Regions from separate parts of the Homo sapiens genome. Here regions 1, 2 and 4 are each linked to region 3. The links are contacts of gene promoters, found by promoter capture Hi-C in human tissues and cell types (Jung and others, 2019). All regions are on one chromosome and are shown on one strand. Each heading gives the region's core, a stretch centred on a gene start or on the middle of the fragment in contact. The rest is flanking DNA. Distances are from core to core; before and after follow the strand shown. Region 1 overlaps GFM2 (GTP dependent ribosome recycling factor mitochondrial 2). Region 2 overlaps HEXB (hexosaminidase subunit beta). Region 3 holds the start of FAM169A (family with sequence similarity 169 member A). Region 4 has its middle 8.3 kb from the start of HEXB.

The links. The method cuts DNA at HindIII sites, captures the fragments that hold promoters and counts their contacts. A contact is called where the count stands out against the background at its distance.
Region 1: a contact is called between a fragment that was not itself captured here and the fragment with the promoter of FAM169A in region 3, in 2 of the 25 tissues and cell types used here (dorsolateral prefrontal cortex and hippocampus).
Region 2: a contact is called between a fragment that was not itself captured here and the fragment with the promoter of FAM169A in region 3, in 2 of the 25 tissues and cell types used here (dorsolateral prefrontal cortex and hippocampus).
Region 4: a fragment that was not itself captured here is called in contact with the fragment with the promoter of FAM169A in region 3 in 1 of the 25 tissues and cell types used here (heart right ventricle).

The regions. Positions count from the first base shown.
Region 1 is chr5:74,726,385-74,729,084 of GRCh38, forward strand. The region is part of intron 17 of GFM2 (GTP dependent ribosome recycling factor mitochondrial 2); the gene reads right to left. Among named protein-coding and RNA genes, the nearest start is that of GFM2, 39 kb to the right of the region's middle. The HindIII fragment of the contact is 8,588 bases long and covers 1-2,700 here.
Region 2 is chr5:74,695,911-74,698,610 of GRCh38, forward strand. HEXB (hexosaminidase subunit beta) reads left to right here. Exons shown (of 14, transcript NM_000521.4): 4 at 783-829; 5 at 1,086-1,196. Among named protein-coding and RNA genes, the nearest start is that of HEXB, 12 kb to the left of the region's middle. The HindIII fragment of the contact is 9,009 bases long and covers 1-2,700 here.
Region 3 is chr5:74,865,116-74,867,815 of GRCh38, forward strand. FAM169A (family with sequence similarity 169 member A) reads right to left here and starts at 1,272. Exons shown (of 13, transcript NM_001376049.1): 1 at 1,050-1,272. It overlaps FAM169A-AS1 (FAM169A antisense RNA 1), which reads left to right and starts at 778. Exons shown (of 1, transcript NR_134288.1): 1 at 778-2,160. RefSeq lists silencers at 719-888, 959-1,208. The HindIII fragment of the contact is 6,065 bases long and covers 1-2,700 here.
Region 4 is chr5:74,675,584-74,678,283 of GRCh38, forward strand. It overlaps a transcript of HEXB not described here. Among named protein-coding and RNA genes, the nearest start is that of HEXB, 8.3 kb to the right of the region's middle. RefSeq lists a silencer at 2,553-2,700. The HindIII fragment of the contact is 6,960 bases long and covers 1-2,700 here.

The DNA.
Region 1 (2,700 bases), core at 13-2,512, 140 kb before region 3:
ATGTTACGAAGATTATACTTTTAAACTTTTCAAAATGTCTTGTAGGTGATTGAAATCCTCTTAGTTACAAACTTTTATATTAAAAAAATTAAATGATAAAACCTTTACAAATATAAAAGGTAAGCTAATGAAAATTAAACGACTTTAAATCCTGACAACCCACAAAATGTTTTATATTGTGTATTTTTCCAGCAATATTTTATGCACTTACTGTTTACAATTTCTTTCCCAAAAAACCAGTAAAGTGTTTTTGGTAAGATTGAAAACAGCATCTCTTATTTGCTAAAAACCAACAATCTCCAATATTTTACTATGTCTGTTACCAATCTCCAATATTTTACTAAAACAAAACTATGCCATATTTATGTGAGGGACCATGTAATGCAGTGATTCATGGCCCAAATTCAAAACTAAGAATTATAGTCTATAATTCTTCATAATTCCTTTGTATGCTTACGTTTTATACTGTGAAACATTTTCTATTTAAAATTATACAGGCTGGATGTGGTGGCTTACACCTGTAATCCCACCCAGCACTTTGGGAAGCCAAAGTGGGAGGATTACTTGAGGCCAGGAATTTGAGACTAGCCTGGGCAATATAGCAAGACTCCGTCTCTGTAAAAAATAATAAAAATTAGCTGAGTATGGTAGTGCACACCTGTAGTCCTAGCTACTTGGGAGACTGAGGCGGGAGGATTGCTGGAGCCCAGGAGTTCAAGGCTACAGTCAGCTAAGATCTTGCCATTGTATGCCAGCCTGCTCAACAGAGCAAGACATTGTCTCAATATATACATGTTTATATATAAATATACGTTTATATATGAGTATATACATATTTATGTACAAGCTAAAAATGAGCATTCATGAAACCTAAAACTACTAAAGAGAGTATTACCAATATTTAGATGCCTTCTGAAGCAACCACTATCATATGTTATCCTCATTATTTTCTTTAGTGTTATATCACATATGCATGTATTTCTAAGCAATAGTTTACTTCTGCTTCATTTTAAATTTGTTATGCCATATGTATACGGCAACTTTTTTGTTCTATGTGTTTGGGAGAGTCGTCTGCACTATTTTCCGACTCCAGCCCTACTCCCCAACTTCTAACAGTCAGCACTTGGCATTCCACTATGAGGAAGACCCCTCCCTCTTCTTCCCTATTTACCTATGTATTATTATAAGTATGAACTTAGAAACTATTTTTTCCCAATGGTCTATACTTGGTATTCAAATTAATCCAGATTTGGCCAGCAGAGTCTCTTCAAGCTGGTTCCTGTGTCCTTATATACCCCCTCACCATCATTTTTTGACCATTTCCTCTCTCACACATAGCATGATATTCCATTATCCTTTCTTATGTTTTATTTCATTTTTAATTAACAAATAATTGTATATATTTATGGGGTATGTGATGTTTCAATACATGTATACATCGTGGAATGATAAAAATCAGGCAAATTAACATCTATCATGTCAAAAAACTTATTTCTTTGTACTGAGATTTAAAATATAAATTATTAACTATAGTCACTGTGCTGTGTAACAGATCATGAGAACCTATTTCTCCTGTCCAGCTGAAACTCCGTACCCCACTTCATCAACATCTCTCCTTTCCCCAGCTTTCCAATCCTCAGCCTCTGGTAGCCATCATTCTACTCTTCTACAAGTTAGACTTTTAAAAGTTCCACATATGTGAGATCATGCCCATCGCACCTATTTTTGATCGTTTCTTGTTCCTTACTAACACAAGTGGCCCTTGAATAATGTGGGGGCTAGGCGTGCTAAACCCCCATGCAGTAAAAAATACATGCCTAAATTTTGACTCCCCTGAAACTTAACTACTATAGAATACTGTTAACAGGAAGACTTACCAACAAATAAACAGTCAATTAACACGTTACATGTATTTTATATTGTATTTTTACAATAAACTAGAAAAAAAAGTTACCAAGAAAATCGTAAGAGAAAATATATTTACTATTTATTAAGTAAAAGTAGAACATCATAAAGGTCTTTATCCTCGTCATCTTTGCACTGAATAGCCTGAGGAGTAAGAAAAGGAGGGGTTTGGCTTGCTGTCTGAGGGATGGCAAAGGCAGGACAATAATCCATGTGTAAGTGTACCTGCATACATACTTTAAACCCATGTTGTTCAAGGGTCAACTGTACTTTCTATCGCCTCTCTTATTTCTTCAAAGATAGTATTTTATATTCTACATCTCATAATTCCAATAACTGAAGCCTTTGCTGGTATGACTACCTATTGTTTCTATTGCCTTTTTGCTCATTGTGCTTTTTCTCATGGTTTTCTGATTTAATTTTATTATGAGTTAATATTCTTTTATGTGTGGGGGTTTCTTTTTTTTTTTTTTTTTTTTTTTTTTGAGATGGCGTCTCACTCTGTTGCCTGGGTTGGAGTGTAATGGCACGATCTCAGCTCACTGCAACTTCGCCTCTGGGATTCAAGCAATTCTCCTGCCTCATCCTCCTGAGTAGCTGGGATTATAGGCACTCGCCACCATTCCCAGCTAGTTTTTGTATTTTTAGTAGAAACGGGGTCACCATATTGGCCAGGCTGGTCTCGAACTCCAGACTTCGTGATCTGCCCACCTCAGCTTCCCAAAGTGCTGGGATTACAGGCGTGAGCCACCAGACCTGGCCATGTGTGGCATCTGAGGCCTGGGTTGATGATAT
Region 2 (2,700 bases), core at 5-2,504, 170 kb before region 3:
ATATTTTCTGTTTACCATCAGACTTTCAGAGTAATGTACTCTAAACTGATCATTATTGAACGTAATGTCACTTAACAGAAACTTTCAGAGTTATTCTTCCCAGCATGAACCTGTACTTGACGAGGTTGGAGAGACAGGAAGGCGTAGCAAAGATGACTGAACTGTTCTTAGGTTAAAAATTCCCTGGCTATATAGCTGTCAGCTAGAATGAGGAATCTGAATAAAGTCAAGGCCAGTTAGAAGAATTAGCCTGTCAACTAGTATATTAAGGGAATAATCCACTTGAGTAAAAAATGTTCAGAAGGTAGTCTTTGCAGCTATAAGTAAAATGCTGTATATTGTAAATTGGCCTTTATTTATAGTTTCATGGTTTTTCCAGCCATTTTTCCCTGTTGCATTTAGATACCTTCTAAAAGTGACTATATTTGATTATAAAAATTCTTTCTCATGATGCCATAAATTTATTAAGGAACCAGTATTTTATTAAATTACTATTCTTCTTTTGTCTATATTGAAACAACCCCCAGGGTATGGGTACAATGAAGTAAAGCACTTTTATTAGATGAGTAGAGAAGTGCAATGGATTTTTTTTTAATTTGGCTTTGATTTTAGAAATTATGGTAGAGGGTGTAGGTATAACAATATATTTTAGAGGATAGAGGTATAACACTATATTCAATTATATTTGCCTTACCTGGTTATGAGTCTGTTTGAATAATATAACTTTTATCATCTCAATTTGTTGATTTATAAATTAATGCAATAAATTTTACTTTCCTCAGGTTTAGAGACCTTTAGCCAGTTAGTTTATCAAGATTCTTATGGAACTGTAAGTATGATTATTATATGTTACTAAAAATTGTTAGACAAATTGCTAATAGAAAAAAATGTAACCTGTTTAGCTATTGCTTCCTGAAGATTTCATTTCCCCAGATATTTGTCTTAGCCGGTAAATGTAAATTTCATACATTTTTGTTGTTCTAAATTAATATTTTATGAAATGCTTGTATAAATAGATTTAGTCTTCATTGAGTTCAAGACAACAGAAAATTCTAAAACTAAATCAAAATTTTATTTTGTCATAGTTCACCATCAATGAATCCACCATTATTGATTCTCCAAGGTTTTCTCACAGAGGAATTTTGATTGATACATCCAGACATTATCTGCCAGTTAAGATTATTCTTAAAACTCTGGTAAGTAATTACTTCATTCTAATCTGTTGTCTATTCTGAAGATGTCTCCTTTATGTTGTAACTTTATGTTGGTTACTATTGTGTAGTTTGGAACAGGGGAATTTGTATAAGCACTGGGCATTCTTTCCTCAGTTCCTAGGGAAGTGTATTTCCTCAGCTGTGACGTGGAGGTCCCCTTGAGAATCACCCTCCTGTTTTCAGTGCGAGAGCCACGTATAACATGTATTTAGCCAAGACTGTTAAGAGAAGGACAGTTTAAACACTGCCCATTGGCCCTTTACATATACTCCCATTTGTCAAATCATGTGTCTAGACTTTTGATTAGGAATACATGGCCACCCAGGTGCGGTGGCTTACACTTGTAATCCCAACACTTTGGGAGGCTGAGGCAGGTGGATCACCTGAGGTCAGGAGTTCGAGACCAGCCTGGCCAACATGGCCAAACCCCATCTCTACTAAAAATACAAAAATTAGCCAGGCGTGGTAGCGTGCGCCTGTAATCCCAGCTACTAGGGAGGCTGAGACAGGAGAATTGCTTGAACCCTCCCCGGGTGGAGGTTGCAGTGAGCCGAGATCGCACCACCGCACTCCAGCCTGGGCGACAGAGCAAGACTCTGTCTCAAAAAAAAAAAAAAAAAAAGGAATACGTGGCCACCACACCATACTTCTAGTTAGTGCCATTTAAATTTTGTGACCACCTCTTACTTTTTTTGTAAGTGGCATTAGAAAGGAGTCCGGGAGCTCCTTTATACCTAGGGAACTATTCCAAAGGAATATGGAACCTCAGGGGTGGTATGGGTTAGGAAGAAGGTTGACAATAACTGTTTTCTCCTATGGGCTTTTTTTTATTGGTTAATCCCCACCATCACCTGCCAATTTGTAGGGGTGGGGAGGTTTCCTCCCATGTTTTTTTGCACCTTCACTTGATCATTATGATGAAACTATGCTATTTAAAAATTATTATTATTATTATTTATTTATTTATTTTGAAACGGAGTTTCGCTCTTGTTGCCCAGGCTGGAGTGCAATGGCGCGATCTCGGCTCACTGCAACCTCTGCCTGACAGGTTCAAGCAATTCTCCTGCCTCAGCCTCCTGAGTAGCTGGGACTACAGGCATGCACCACCACGCCCAGCTAATTTTGCATTTTTAGTAGAGACGGGGTTTCTCCATGTTGAGGCTGGTCTCGAACTCCTGACCTCAGGTGATCCACCTGCCTTGGCCTCCCAAAGTGCTGGGATTGCAGGTGTGAGCCACCGTGCCCAGCCAAAAATTATTATTATTATTATTATTTTTTTTTCTTTTTAGTTGAAGTCTTGCTCTGTCGCCAGGCTGGAGGGCAGTGGTGCAATCTTGGCTCACTGCAACCTCCGCCTCCCGGATTCAAGCAATTCTCCTGCCTCGGCCTCCCGAGTAGCTGGGATTACAGGTGCACACCACCACACCCAGCTAATTTTTGTATTTTTAGTAGAGACAGGGTTTCACCATGTTAGCCAGGATGTTCT
Region 3 (2,700 bases), core at 22-2,521:
GACAAAATATAAATGGCTTGGGTATAATCTGCTCAGTTCGTAAGTAGTAATTCGCAAGAAGCCAACGAATTAAAAGAATTCCCAAATTCTCAGGAACCTTGAAAATGACAAATTGTGTCACAGTTCTGTGAGAATCACAATGAAAACTTTCCCTTCTGGAAATTTTTTAGAAATATGTCCCTCCGGTCCCAATCCCCCAAAAACCCGTACACACGTTTTAATTTACGTTAGGAACGGCTCTCCCAGCGGGGGAAGGTGACCTGCATCAGGTGGTTATCTTCGAATCCACCCGATACGATACCCACGCCGCTTCCCAGACGCTGAAAAGCCAGTGAGATGCTTCATCCTTTCTCCCCAAGGACAGTCATGGGAGTCAGTGTAATCCAGACCCCCGAGCCATAAACCACCCAGGGTTCAAGGCTTCACCTCCTGAGGCACAGGCCTCTTGAAAAATGGCATAATGGAGAGCTGAGAACACAATTAGGACAAAACTGCAACGACCAGCATTCCAGAGGAGGGAGAATCATACAATATCTGTTCCAAAAGTAGTTACAGGTAAAGGAAGGCGGTCAGAGCATCTCTGGAGGCCACCTGGTCGGGTGAACCGAGTCTAAACGCTGAAGTTCCACACCTCCCCGAGTCCGCGTCTCCCCAAGCCAAAGCAATCAGCTCGCACGCCAAGCATCCAGGTGGGGAGAGGGCGAGGGGAGGGGGCGGCAAGCCGCAGCTGCGAACCGGCCCGCGGCGGAGGCGAGCGAAGACGGGCATTCCCTCACACAAAATGGTGGCGCCGAGGCGGAGGCCGGCGCACCTGGGGGCGCCACACGCCCTACGGGATCCCCGCAGACCGCCGCCAGCTGGACGCGAGCCCCGGGTCCAGGCGGCCCGCACTGGTCTGCGCCAGGCCCAGCCCGCAGGGGCCGCCCACAGCCGGTGGCCCGCGTCGCCGCTCGGTGTCCGCGGGTCTGGTGCTGGCGGGGGCGCGGGGCCCGGCGCGGCCGTCTCGGCCTCACCCAGCGGTCCGCGCCGGGGAGAGGGAGCGCACTCACCTCAGACGCGCCCCGGGAGCCGCTGGAAGAGCCCGGGAAAGGAGGCGGAGCCGCGCGAATGAATGGAGCCGGCGGCTGCTCGCTGGCGACCTCCGGCCGGTCCCAGGCCGCACAGCTCGCGGCTGCCAGGGCGAGTGCGGCTGCCTCCCGCTCGCCCCGGACGCCCGGCTCCTCGTCGCGGGTCGGCCGCGGCCCACCGTGCCCTCCGACGACGTGACGCACTAGCGCCGCAGCGCCTCCAGCCTTCGCTTCCGCTCCGCGCCCGCGCCCACCGCGAATCCCCCCGCCCGCCAGCGCGGAGCGGCCCCTCCTCGGAGCCTGGGACGCCGCCCTGCCTCCCTCCAGCCCCGGCTTTCAGGCGCCGGCCCGGCAGGTGCGGGCTTGGCCAGCCCGGGGGCGTCACGCGGCCCCCGCCTCGCCACCCGCGCCCCCTCTCTCCGCCCCGGCCGCCGTCACCCGGCAGCGCGACGCCCAGCTCAGGGCAATGGCCTGGTATTAAAGAGTGACCTTGGCTTAGATATAAAAATAGATGCGGTTAAGCCGCGGGGGCTGCAACGCTGATTTTGCGTATTCCTTTAATGCCGACCTTCGCAGGATTCTGTTCGCATAGCCCGGTGGAGTTCTCCAGCCCCGCGTAGGCCCTCCTGAAATTTACCCAGAGTGGGCGCGGCCATCCCGGCCTCGGGACAGGGGTGCAGAGGGCACGGGCGAGGACCGCCGGCCTCCGCCCCACCACTTTCATCCTAAACCTACTGCCACTTAGGTGCATGCAAGTTAGAATCGTGGGCTGCTTTCACAGTCTACAGAAGTCCTAGAGCCCGGACTTTCATCTGGAGATGTCAGGGAAATACCACATTCCTGCGCTGACCTTTTCTCTTTCACCGTTTAACCGGTACAGAATAACCCTGACCCAGAAAGACAACAGGGTTCCATCCGGCTTTCCTCCCGTGCCTCTCCCAGCTCTATTCTACCGTCTTATGGCCTCTGGCGCCTTTGCTAATTACACACTCCTACTGAAAATTAGCCCTCCAGCATTTAAAACATGATAAATTGTCTTTAAGGTAATGCGTATTGTAGTCTAAATATATTTAATAACTGTATTGAGAAACAATATTGTATCTAAGTATTAATGTCAAGACTTTCTTTTACTCATCATCCAAGAACCGTAGTATTATGTTCAGCTCATCCAGAAAAGTTGAAAATTGCTTCTTTCATTCCTGGGAAATATTTAGCAATCACAATACCAACTTTCACGAATTTACTAATGATTAGCAAAATTAGCAAGATCAAAAAATACTTCAAAGAATGCTTGTTGATATAGATATATTTGACCCTGATTTTTAAAAAAAGCTTTTCTGCCATATAAGAATCTATTGTTTCATTTGTATAATATTTAATTAGCCAAAATCTTTACTATTACACATCATTTACCATTTTAATGAAACTTAATGAATTAGATTTAATAGAGCAGGAATTTTGGGTAGTTGGGTTCTACCCATAGCCAGTGATGAATGAAATTATATGACTTGTATTTACATTTCTAGAGCTATGTGTAAGTAGGAGTCCCCAGGGTAATCCCAAACAATTGCCATTTGGGGAAGCTTTGGCTACCAGACTATGCCCTACAGATGTTGAAGCCTCAGGCCTTAGT
Region 4 (2,700 bases), core at 77-2,576, 190 kb before region 3:
TGGAGCACACAACTGAGGGTGCAAGTGATGTGGTCAGAGAGGTGGTCAGATGCCAGATTCTGCCACACTGTGCAGGCCATATTAAGGATCCTATATTTTATTCTAAAGACAATGGGGAACAAGCCATTGAAATGTTTTAAGCAAGGAAGTGATATGACTGACTTTACATTTTACAAAGATGACTTTGTTAGCTGTGTTTCCACAGCTGACTGGGGTCGGGGGGTGAGGTGGTGGTATAAGCAGCAAGTGGAAAGATCTCTCCAGGCCAACACCTAAAGTTCTACTTCATTCTTGTATAATCTCTCAGAGGAAATTGAGTGGGGAGGGAATCTTATGAATAGCAGCAACAAAAAGAATGAAGCATGCCTAACAGGAAATGTGAAAGACCTAGGTAGAGTATAAGACTTTGGTGACAAGCATAAAATAACTTTATAAATTAACAGAAAGTATTTCTAAGTGGAAAGCCCCAATATGGCAAAGATGTCAGTTTTCTCTGAATTGAGCTATAATGTGAATGCAATTCCTATCAATAGCAGTTTTTGTTTTTTGTTTTGGACCTTGTCAATCAAGTCTTTAATTTCATATGTAAGGAAAAATTATTTTTGTTATTATTATTATTAATACAAGTAGAGGAGTTTATTTGGGCCAAGCTTGAGTAGTGCAACCCAGGAGCATAGATTCAAATTGCCCTGAATATACACTCTGATTACGAACAGTTACAAGTGCACTTTATTTCTTGTAAAGACGGTGTCTCACTATGTTGCCCAGGCTGGTCTCAAACTCCTGGCCTCAAGCAATTAATCTTCCCACCTCAGCTTCTGGACTGAAGTGCCAGTCCAAAGTGCTGGGACTTTAGGCATGAGCCACCATGCCCACATGCAAATTTTTAAAGGGCAAGAAGGGGCTGGGTGCAGTGGCTCACTCCTGTAATCCCAGCACTTTGGGAGCCAAGGTGGGTGGATCGCTTCAGCCAGGAGTTCAAGACCAGCCTGGCCAACATTGTGAAACCCTGACTGTAGTAAAAATACAAAAATTAGCTGGGCGTGGTGGCACATGCCTGTGATTCCAGCTACTCGGGAGGCTGAGGCAGGGGTAGTGCCTGAACCTGGGAGGCGGAGGTTGCAGTGAGCTGAGATTGCACCACTTCACTCCAGCCTTCATGACAGATGAGATTCTCTCAAAAAAAAGGGGAGCGGTGCGGGAAGGTGGAAGAAGGGGCAGTTCCTAGTTGTTTATCCAGAATTTACATTAAAATAACATAAGCTATTGATTGGCTATACATTGTTCTCTGGTTTTTTGTTTGTTTTGTTTTGTTTTGTTTGAGACGGAGTCTCACTCTGTCACCCAGGCTGGAGTGCAGTGGCGGGATCTCGGCTCACTGCAAACTCCACCTCCTGGGTTCATGCCATTCTCCTGCCTCAGCCTCCCGAGTAACTGGGATTACAGGCGCCCGCCACCACACCCCATTAATTTTTGTATTTTTAGTAGAGATGGGGTTTCAACATGTTGGCCAGGATGGTCTCGATATCCTGACCTCGTGATCTACCCGCCTCAGCCTCCCAAAGTGCTGGGATTACATGAGTCACCGCACCCAGCATACGTTGTTCTTTGCATCACAAATTCCAGAAACATGAAGATAATGAATGAAGCAGCTAGAAAAAAACAAAATAAACAATTGCCCCCAAGCATAAAGGGAGGCCAGTTACACATTTGCATGACTAAGTTCCAAACTCTTGCCTCTCTGGGCCTGCAGATTTCACATAGGTCAGACTGCTCTGAGATATTTTCATTTTCTCTGGTGGTAAAGGAGAAATATGATAAATATCAGTTTTACTCTCAGATTCTATTGGGGCAGGACAGCTGTATTGCATTCTATTAAACAGTTTGCATTTCTTTTCTTCTTCTTCTTTTTTTTTTTTTTTTTTTTTTTGGTACTACTCTCAGAGGTCCATGCCAAGTTCAGCTCTCTTTGCCAACACCAGCAATTCAACAGTGCACCTTCATAACAGGTCTTTATTTAATCTTCTTCCTTTCCTGTCTCGCTCTCCCCACTGTCACTGCTTCTTTTTGGAATTATTTTCCAAAGAAACTACCTCAAATTAAGTCTTTTTTTATTATTATTTTTTATGCTTTATTCCAGTAGCTTTTGGGGTACAAGTGGTTTTTTGTTAAAAGGATTAATTATATAGCAGTGAATTCTGAGATTTTAGTGCACTGGTCACCTGAGTAGTGCACAATGTACCTAATGTGTAGTTTTTTTAGCTCCTTTCCCACCCTCCCCTTTCTGAGTCTCCACAGTCCATTATATCGCTCTGTATGTGGAAGGAAAAATTATTTAAAATAGGAAGAAATTTTAGAAATAAAACAATGTGTGTGCATGCTCTTCAAGATATCAAAGCATAACTCAAAATTATAACGATTTAAATAGTGCAGCCAGGAGCAGTGGCTCACACCTGTAATCCCAGCACTTTGGGAGGCCCAGGAGGGTGGATCACCTGAGGTCAGGAGTTCGAGACCAGCCTGGCCAACATGGTGAAACCCCGTCTTTACTAAAAATACAAAAAATTAGCTGGGCATGGTGGCAGACACCTGTAATCCCAGCTCCTTGGGAGGCTGAGGCAGGAGAATCACTTGAACCCAGAAGGCGGAGGTTGCAGTGAGCTGAGATCGTGCCATTGCACTCCAGCCTGGGCAACAAGA